2 separate regions of the Homo sapiens genome follow, and region 1 is linked to region 2. The links are contacts of gene promoters, found by promoter capture Hi-C in blood cells and fetal thymus (Javierre and others, 2016). All regions are on one chromosome and are shown on one strand. The core of a region is centred on a gene start or on the middle of the fragment in contact, and the rest is flanking DNA. Distances in the headings are between cores, read along the strand shown. Region 1 holds the start of AZIN2 (antizyme inhibitor 2). Region 2 holds the start of LAPTM5 (lysosomal protein transmembrane 5).

Region 1 (4,308 bases), core at 1,789-4,288, 2.3 Mb before region 2:
AGCCTGGCCATGTGTGTGTTCAGTGGGCATGGAGGGTCAGTGCACCGTGCGGGCAGGGCTCACCTTGTTGGCACAGCTAAAGCCCAGCCCCAGCTGGGCCAGAACCTTCAGCACACCTGGGCTGCTGTTGCACTTGACAGCATAAAAGGGCCGGACTCGTGGCAGGCACTTCAGAAAGCAAAAGTGCTTCCTCACTATGGCACCCAGGTCAGCCACGAAGAAGGCAGCTACCTCGTCCTGAATGACAAGAAGTGGATGAATGTGAGACCCCATCCAGCTCGCACCCTGTGCATGCCATCCGTGATCCTTCCAAGTACCTGACCCAGGTTCAGTACTGGCCACAGAGCTACCCTGCTGCTAAGTTTTCTGGGCCTCCCCAAGCCTACAGGGCAGAAGGCAAACTCCTCAGCCTGGCATTCAAGGCTCTGATCTAGCCCCAATCCCTCCCCTCAATGCGGCTAAAACTCCAGCTGTAGGCTGGATCATTTTCCCACCTTCAAACCTTTGTTCCCACCATGTCCTGCAGAATACCCTCCCCACTCCTGTGTCTGGCAAAATCCTTAAAGTTTCACTCAAATGCCACCTTCCCCAAACCAATAAGGCAACTCTGCTTTTAAATGCTCCCACTGCATTTGCATATGCTTCCAAGGTATCAGAACTGCATATGCATCTGTCCATTCTAGAAAAGGGTAAACTCCCTAAAGGCAGAAGCTATGACCTACAGCTCACTGCCTTCCAAACACAGGTGCTCAATGAAGCCTTAAGCTAGTCCCACTGACACTGCAACCTATCCCTATGGACAACTGTTCATTGTAGATGTGCTAAAGGCCAAACATGTATGAGGCTGTGGGTGAGACCACATTACTTAAATGTGGAAGGGACCCTTCCAGAGTTGCTTCCCTGGGACTCAGTTTCCCTTTCATGCAACACTTTTTTACTCATGCCCACTTGGTGCCAAACGTTATGCTAAGGGACAGAGATGACCAAACAGTACTGTTGTTCTGAAGGAGCTTGGGTCTGGAAGAAAAGGAACCCCTTAAGTACTTACAAGTCCATTCAGCAGATGTTAGATGGCAGTTTCTACAAGGTGCAATGCAGGGGCATGGAGAAAGAAAATAGAAAATCTGCCTGGGGCGATCAGGAAAGGCAACACTGATGAGAAGCAAGGAATGACTAGAAAGGGGTAAAGAGGGGAGAGGCTGAGAGAAGGATGCTGCAGGCAGAAGGAACAGCCTGGGCAAAGGCATGGTAATAGCATCATTGGGCACACAGCATCATTGGGAAATGCAAATTGAGTCATTCAGCTCCGAAGGAGCATAATATATACTGTGGGGAAAGCTGGGAATGGGGCTATGGAGGCAGGGAAGCTCTGACTTGATCCTGTAGGCAGTGGAGAATTGCCAAATTCAGATTTTGAACAGGACTATGATACCTTTGGAGGGGGTGGCATGAGACCGGGAGATCAGGGGGCCTTTGGAGAGAGGAAGACTGAACTAGAAAGCGAGGTTCCACATAAGCACACTGGAGGCTTATTTAAGGAGGCAGAATTCACAGAGCTTGGTAATGCCTAGATGTGGGCGGTGAGGGAGAGGGGGCAGCAGGAAAGGAATCCCCCGTTTCTGACCTTGGAGGGCTGGGTAAAAAGGCAACATAGGAGGGGCAGGTTTGGGGGCAAGGACAAAGAATTGGGGATAAATTGAGCCCCTCTCTTGCAAATAGCAAGGATTGCGTACCAAATAAGCGAAAGGATAAGATGAGGGCCCTAGGGACCCTTCCTGAGGAGGCAGCTGATCTGTACAGGGGACCGGGGACCCACCCCCATTCCCAGCCCCTCACCGTGGTGGCCTGTGAGGCCCCCAGAGTGAGTTCCTTCAGCAGGTCTCGGGTACTGAAGCCCTCCTCCACCATCACAAAGTCCGATTCACTCAGGTAGCCAGCCATGCCTTGCAGGAGGAGCTGACGGGCTGGATGGAGCCGCTGCTGCAGCCGCCGCCTTAGAAAGTATGCAACACACTGCGGGGCGAGGGGAGATGAAGGGAACCGCTGGGGGGCCGGCTCTGCTGCCCCACTCGCCTCCCGAGGCCAGGGATCCCAATCCCGTCACAACCCGCCCCCAGCACAAGCCCGGGGTTCACTGGGCAAGGGTGGAGAAAGTCAAGAATCCCGGATTTCAGACGGAGACAAGGCACCGTATGCCCAAATGTCACTGCCTCTCCGAGTCAGTTGCTCCCTCTGTAAAATGGATGAATTGTTTTGGAGAGCCTTCCCAGTTCTGAAATTCTGGATTTCAGGAAAGAGTGAGAGAGAGATGGAACAGAAAATCTGAGAAACTTGGGTGGGGAAGTTTCCAGGGCGCCCCCAGTCTTGACCACGCCCACCTAGAGGGTAGCCGGTGGCCACATCAAGGCGTCTCAGCCTAAGAGCAAGAGCTTAAGTTCGAGTCCGCTCTCTACTGCTTGACCTCGGGTACCCTCTGACCCTTTCGGAGCCGCAGTTTCCCCAATTGTAAATGGGGGCTGGACTGATCCTGAGGTGCTAGAATTCTAGGCGTGCCTGGGGACGCCACGCGGTGGGTGGGGGCCGCAAGCTCCTGGGAGAGAACGGAAGGCCGAGGTTTTTTCTGTCCGAGTGACTCCTACAGAGTGCAGGGCTGAGGTCCCCCCAACCCCCAGGGCCCCTTACCAAACTCCGTCCTCCTTCGCGGGGGCCAGAGCCAGGCGCGCTGCTAGGGGGGGTCGCCGGTGACCTCGAAACTTGTGCAACACCCCGAGGAGGAGTGGCAGTTGCGGAGCCGAGGCCTCTGCTGACAGGAGGCAGAAGGGGCAGGGAGGCAGGTCAGCACCAGGGCGGAGGGCGTCCGCTCCCCGAGGCTCCCCAGGCCACTTTCCGCACTCGCCTTAAAACGCATTTACACGGCTTCGGCCCATAGGTCTCCCCAGGGAGTGAATCGGATCCTCGGCGCCTCCGCTCTCTCGCTTCCCCGGGCTCGGGTCCCGCGGCCTGCGCCCCGCCAGCCCAGCAGCCACAGACCCCCACGCCCCGCCTTCCGCCCGCCGCTGGCTTATATAACCCCGCCCAGGCCCCGCCCATAGTGCCGAGGCCCTACCTCCGCTTGGCCGTAGCCCTGGCAACCGGGTGCCGCCATCCCATTGGTCGATTCCGACATAAAGCATTCAGCTCTGCTCGCCCTTACTGTAGTCTTCTCCCCCGGAGGCCTGGCGGTGGCTACCTCACGCTGGAAGTCAGAACTACAGGGCCGCCGCCACGCAGGTGAGACACTTAGACCCTGCATCTTAGGTCTTAGAGAGTGGGCAGGACCAGGAAGCCTTTTCTGCCTCTGCCTCAACTTACTTCGTGGTCCAGCTCTTGTCTGCGTCAGGAACTGCTCACTCATCTCTCGAAACCCGGTTCCAATGACATGTCCTTGTATTACTTTTGTAATAAAATTCTTTTTATTTAATTGCCTCTTCCAGGCATCTTCCCCGACTCCAACTCAAAACGCATCTAAAATGTCTTCAGAGAACCTTTTTGTGACTTTCCCAGTTCAGGGCAATCCCTCCCTTTATCCCATCCTGTGAACCCGGCAAACTCTTACTCATCTCTCAATAGAAATGTGTCTCCTTCTCCAAGAAGCTTTCCCGGACTTCCTCAACTCAAAGCATTTCTTCTATACCGAAAGCTGCTGCTCACCCATCAAAGTCCTGTATAATGTCACCTCTGTTGAACCTTCCATGACTTGCCTGGCCCCAAGGAACACAGCATTTAGTCTGTCTGGACCCCTCACTCATTTGGTTCTTGTTACCCATAGCGTGAGATTCCTGTTGTTATTTTACACTTCTTGTTTGGTTACACTTTGCATCTAGTTTGTGATTTCCCAAGGGCAAGGACTGAATACCCTGCTCAAGAGCCTGGTGCCTGGCATAGACAAGAATGCTGAGGAAGATTCAATAGCTGTGTTACTCAAAAGCTGATATAAAAGTTCATCTGGAAAAGTAAGTGTACAAGAACAGTCAAGACACTCTTTTTGCCCAGGCTGGAGTGCAATGGCACGATCTCAGCTCACTGCAACCTCTGCCTCCTGGGTTCAAGCGATTCTCCTGCCTCAGCCTCCCAAGTAACTGGGATTATAGGCGCATGCCACCACGCACAGCTAATTTTGTATTTTCAGTAGAGATGGGGTTTCACCATATTGGCCAGGGTGGTCTTGAACTCCTGACCTCCAGTAATCTACCCGCCCCGGCCTCCCAAAGTGCTGGGATTATAGGCGTGAGCCACCGCGCCCGGCCAAAACTACAGTCTTTAAAACAG
Region 2 (4,539 bases), core at 2,025-4,524:
GGAAAACAGCAGAATATAAATAGTGAGCTTATGTGGTGTTGCCACCTGCATGTACAGACAACGAGATGGGCATTATCATTATCCCCGCTTGGCGCAGGAGGAAGCGGAGGCTCAGGGAAGTTCACGACTTGGCTGGGGTCACACAGCAAGGAAGTAAGGGCTGCACTTGTGCAGATGGGGACTGTGGTCTCGGTGGAGTGTGTTGGGCTCCAGCGACGGGGCCCCAGGCTCAGCTGTTGCTTCCACTGAGCAGCTGTATTTGTTCCCTGCGGCCGCTATAATAAAAGACCAGAAACACAGTGACTACAACAGACATTTATTGTCTTACAGTTCTGGAGGCCAGAAGTCAGGAATGCGCCTCGCTGAGCTAAAATGAAAGTGATTCCCTTTCGAGCCTCTAGAGGAGAAGCCATTTCCTTGCCTTTTCCAGTTTCTGGATGCCGCCTGCACTCCTTGGCTCATGGTTCTTCCTCCAACTGCAGAGCCAGGAGTGTGGCATCTTCCACTCCCTCTCTGACTCTGATCTTCCTTCACTTATGGGGACCCATTTGATGACCTCAGGGCCATCCAGATAATGCAGGATAATCTCCCCACCCACCTCAAGATCCTGAATTTCATGGCGCCTGTGAAGTTTCTTTGCCATGTAAGGCCATGTACGCACAGGTTCCAGAGATTAGGGTGGATTTTTTTTGGGGGGTGAGAGGCACTATTCTGCCTATCACAGTGGCTTTGGCCAAAGGGTCTGACCTTTGGGATAATAGCCGTCCTCTCCACAGGGGGTTTGTTGGGAATGACAATAAAGTGATTCAGGCTTGTACTCCACAGGGAGTGACTGAGGTGCCTGCCAAGGGGCCAGTGTGTGCTGGAGCCTGGTGACCCGGTGAGAGACAAATGACTGCATCAGAACTCCTGCTTCTGCGAGGGAGGTAGTGCCCGAGGGGACTCAGAATCAGACAGATCAGGGGTTCAATCCCAGCTCTGCCTCCTCCTAGCAGCCTGAGTACGGGTGAGATCGGGGAGCAGGGACGGGCTGGAAGGGAGAAAACAAACAGATGCATTCACGTGACCTCATTTCACCTTCACCGCAGCCCTGCCAGGCAAATTTCTGTTCCCCCCAACCGCCCCGCCGTTTTGCAGAGGTGAAAACAACAGCTCAGAGAGATCAAGTGCCTTGTCTGACACCACACAGCTACTAAGTGGGGAGCTGGGATTCCCCATGCCCCAGGATTCCCAAACGGATGCCACCTACTCCACCTCCAGGGCTGTCTGCCACATCTGCGTCCTCCTAGGCTGTGGCTTCCTTAATATGTTCTTTAAATTGACTTACTGCCTTTTTTATTTAAATGCATTTCTTTTAAAATGAGACTTTATATTACTCCTATAAATGGAAAATCACAGGATTCATGGACTAGTTATGTATATTTTTATAATGCACATTAAAATGAATTTATCACCATAAAAAATGAGAAATGTTTACCCATAGACCATGTACAATTATTCCACATGCTGTCAGTGTGTTTCATCCCTCTCTTTGGGAGTTGGCTTTGCACCTGTCCTGGTTTCACCAAATCACAATGTTATGAATGGCTATCATTTATTATGGTAGGAAATCGTCAAATGGCTTCTGTGCACAATCAAATGCAGACTCCCCAGCATGGCCTCAGGGCCCTCCTGGCCCCTGGTTTCCTGATCTCCAGTTCCTCTGGTCTTGCTACTCTTAGACAAAGGAGGACTTCTCTTGGTTTTCTGCCTACCCAGCCAGAAGATCCCAGGCCATGGGCCTGTGGAGCCAAAGTTCTTAACCACTGCACTGTGTCACCTTTCTATGATGTCAGGCCTCAGCAAGGCTTATGAAGGAACAGGAACAGCCTTGAAAATGAAGTTGGGAAGGGATAGGCCAGGCCTCCCAGGAGCCCAAAGCTTGCAGAGTCCCCTTGGTCTCATTGGCACATGGAGAATGGATTGATCAAGTCCACCAATCAAGTTTTGTGGGTCTAACAGAGCAACTCCTGCCAAGTGGGAGGAGCTTAGGGACTTTCTATAACCTCTCCTGGGGCAGAAATGATGGGCTGCAGCAGTGTCCAATCCTAACTCCATGATCTCCTGGGAGGGCAGGGCTTCATGGCAGTTCCTGTCTGCTCTGCACTAGAAGCTTGGCATTGCAAAGGGGCTCAGCTGTGGAATGAAGCAGGGCTTCTTCCAGAAATGTTGCATGTACTTCCTATTCCCTTTCTTTATTGCAATATGGATAATTTATCATCTGAGGAGGGAGTAGAGATTCCAGGGTAGCTTGCCTAAGAGTTGTGGCTTATTAATTCCAACTTTTTGCAAGATCAAGGGGGAAAAGCAATCCCTGATTTTGTGTGAGTATGGGGATTGGGTCTTGAGGCCCTGAAAGTGAGGTTCGGGTCTCACAGATTGCTGTGAAGAGTTATTGACCCACCTAGAAGAGAAGCCTAGCCCAGGGCCTGGCGCACAGTTGATGGGTTTGCTTCCTGGTTATTCTTCCGTCCTTGTCTGGAGCCCTGCACGCCTCTTCGTAGCTTAGGAAGAACAAGCTTCTCCCTGCGGCTCAGGGTGAGGAAGTGGGAGAGAACACCAGCTCCAGGGAGGCTTCTAGCACCAGTCAGCCTCAGTTAAAATCCTTGCACCTTCATTGACTAGCTGTGTGACCTTGCACGAATCATTCCCCCTCTCTGTGCCTCAGTTTCTTCATCTGTAAAATGGGGATCATAATAGTACCTCTCTCAAAGGATTGAGGTGAGGATGAAAGGAGTGAATCCAGGAGCATGCCTGGAAGAGGCAGGAAATGCCTCCTAGACAATAGCTATTTTTGCAGCCAGACAGATCTGGGTTTGAATTCTGCCACCAGTGCTAACTACTGTGTGATTTGGGGCAAGTGCCTTGACCTCTCTGGACAGCTGTTTCCTCATCTGGAAATGGGCTTGGTAACAGTCCTGGCTTCCAAAGTTGGTAGTGTTCTTCTAGTAAGCAAGCTGTGTGAAACGGTGGAACCCTGGCCCTGGTGCAGAGAAGGGCATGATGACCGTGTTAGGGTCTGTCCTCTCTGGAACCCCCTCCTGGGAATGGCAGAGGGCAGTGGGGTGCTCTGAGGCAGGCTGCTGCCCTGTCCCCACTCCCCCTCCCCAGCTGCCCCGCCCCAGCTGTGACGACCTTGTCCCTGCCTGTCTAAGGGGCAGGAAGGAAGTGAGGAGGGCAGCCAGCAGCTTCCCCTTCTCTGCCCTGCTCCAGGCACCAGGCTCTTTCCCCTTCAGTGTCTCAGAGGAGGGGACGGCAGCACCATGGACCCCCGCTTGTCCACTGTCCGCCAGACCTGCTGCTGCTTCAATGTCCGCATCGCAACCACCGCCCTGGCCATCTACCATGTGGTGAGTGTGCGGGCCCCGGGTGTGTGTGCGTGCGTGCTTGTGTGAGTGTGAATGTCTGCGGTGACCCGTCATCTACGGAGCCCCACAAATGAAAGAACTCCTGCTCTCCACCTCTCTGGGGGACCCTGGGCAAATCCCTGTCCTGCTCTGGGCCTCAGTTTCCTTCTCTGTCAAATGGCTGGGGGTACCCTGGGGAGATGCCGCAAGAGTGAGGAGTAAGGGAGCTGGAATCCACTTTCCAGGCAAATGTAACTGACGTTCACTCCGAGGCTGGCTCCGTTTCTGCCTCTGTGAGATGGGGCACAGCAGCAGCCGGAAGGTTATTTGTGTGCAAAGCCAACAGCAGATGTGAAAGTGCTTTGGAAGGCAGGGATCTTGGGAGGAACGTGGGCTGGGATTGTTTGACCGGGATGTGAGGTCGGCCGCAGACACAGCCCCGATTCTTCCCCTGGGGCCTGGAGGGAGCCTGGGCCACTCGAGGGGATGAGAAGTGGGGATCTCCCCTTTGTGCCTCCAGTGGGGAGGCAGGGGCCGTGTCCTCTCAGCTTCCAGCTCAGTCAAACCACGGCCTTCTGCCCACCAAAGAGAACTTGAGACCTGTGCTAATCATTAGGGTAACTTGTCCGGCCCAAGCTCTTGTTGGGCAACTTGTGAAGTCACGGCTGTCACTGGTTCCTCCTTTCCTGGTGACTCACAGTGTGGTCTTGGGCAAGTCACAGTGCCCGGGGGCCAAGGCTGCCCCTCTGCCTGGGGTGGCTGAGGGTCAGTGTCCTTGTACTGTCCTGCCTAGACCCACCCTACTCCCAAACTCCTGGCCACACTCATCTCCCCTAGACCCAAGCGACTTCCTCCTGGGGTGACTCAGGGCCTGTGGTTAACAGTTTTCTCATGAGTCTGGAAGGGCTTCCTCAAAATTAGCCTAGATCCACATGCTGCGGTGGGTTGCTGCAAACTCAGACCTGCCTGCGTCTGCTTCCTGTCACAGGCAGGGCAGGCAGAGCTGTGGCAAGAGCCCAGCCTTCAGGGGGGCGATGCTGTTCAGTGGTTAGCCCACGGCCTCTGGATGCAGACTCCTGCATGCAAATCCTGGCTTCCCTGCTTCCCAGCTCTGCAGCCTTGGGCAATTTACTTAACCTCTCTGAGCCTCAGT

The links. The method cuts DNA at HindIII sites, captures the fragments that hold promoters and counts their contacts. A CHiCAGO score of 5 or more calls a contact.
Region 1: a contact is called between the fragment with the promoter of AZIN2 here and the fragment with the promoter of LAPTM5 in region 2, in 1 of 17 cell types (non-activated CD4 T cells). The highest score is 6.7, in non-activated CD4 T cells.

Annotation. Positions count from the first base shown.
Region 1 is chr1:33,079,883-33,084,190 of GRCh38, reverse strand. It overlaps AZIN2 (antizyme inhibitor 2), which reads right to left and starts at 3,038. Exons shown (of 12, transcript NM_052998.4): 1 at 2,897-3,038; 2 at 2,683-2,803; 3 at 2,379-2,590; 4 at 1,837-2,013; 5 at 64-237. The coding sequence starts at 1,941. It overlaps LOC105378635 (a long non-coding RNA gene), which reads left to right and starts at 3,195. Exons shown (of 3, transcript XR_947163.2): 1 at 3,195-3,270; 2 at 3,864-3,992. RefSeq lists an enhancer at 1-95 and a silencer at 2,817-3,076. The HindIII fragment of the contact is 16,354 bases long and covers 1-3,635 here.
Region 2 is chr1:30,756,509-30,761,047 of GRCh38, reverse strand. It overlaps LAPTM5 (lysosomal protein transmembrane 5), which reads left to right and starts at 3,274. Exons shown (of 8, transcript NM_006762.3): 1 at 3,274-3,389. The coding sequence starts at 3,303. RefSeq lists enhancers at 2,125-2,194, 3,263-3,542, 3,671-4,467. The HindIII fragment of the contact is 6,145 bases long and covers 2,561-4,539 here.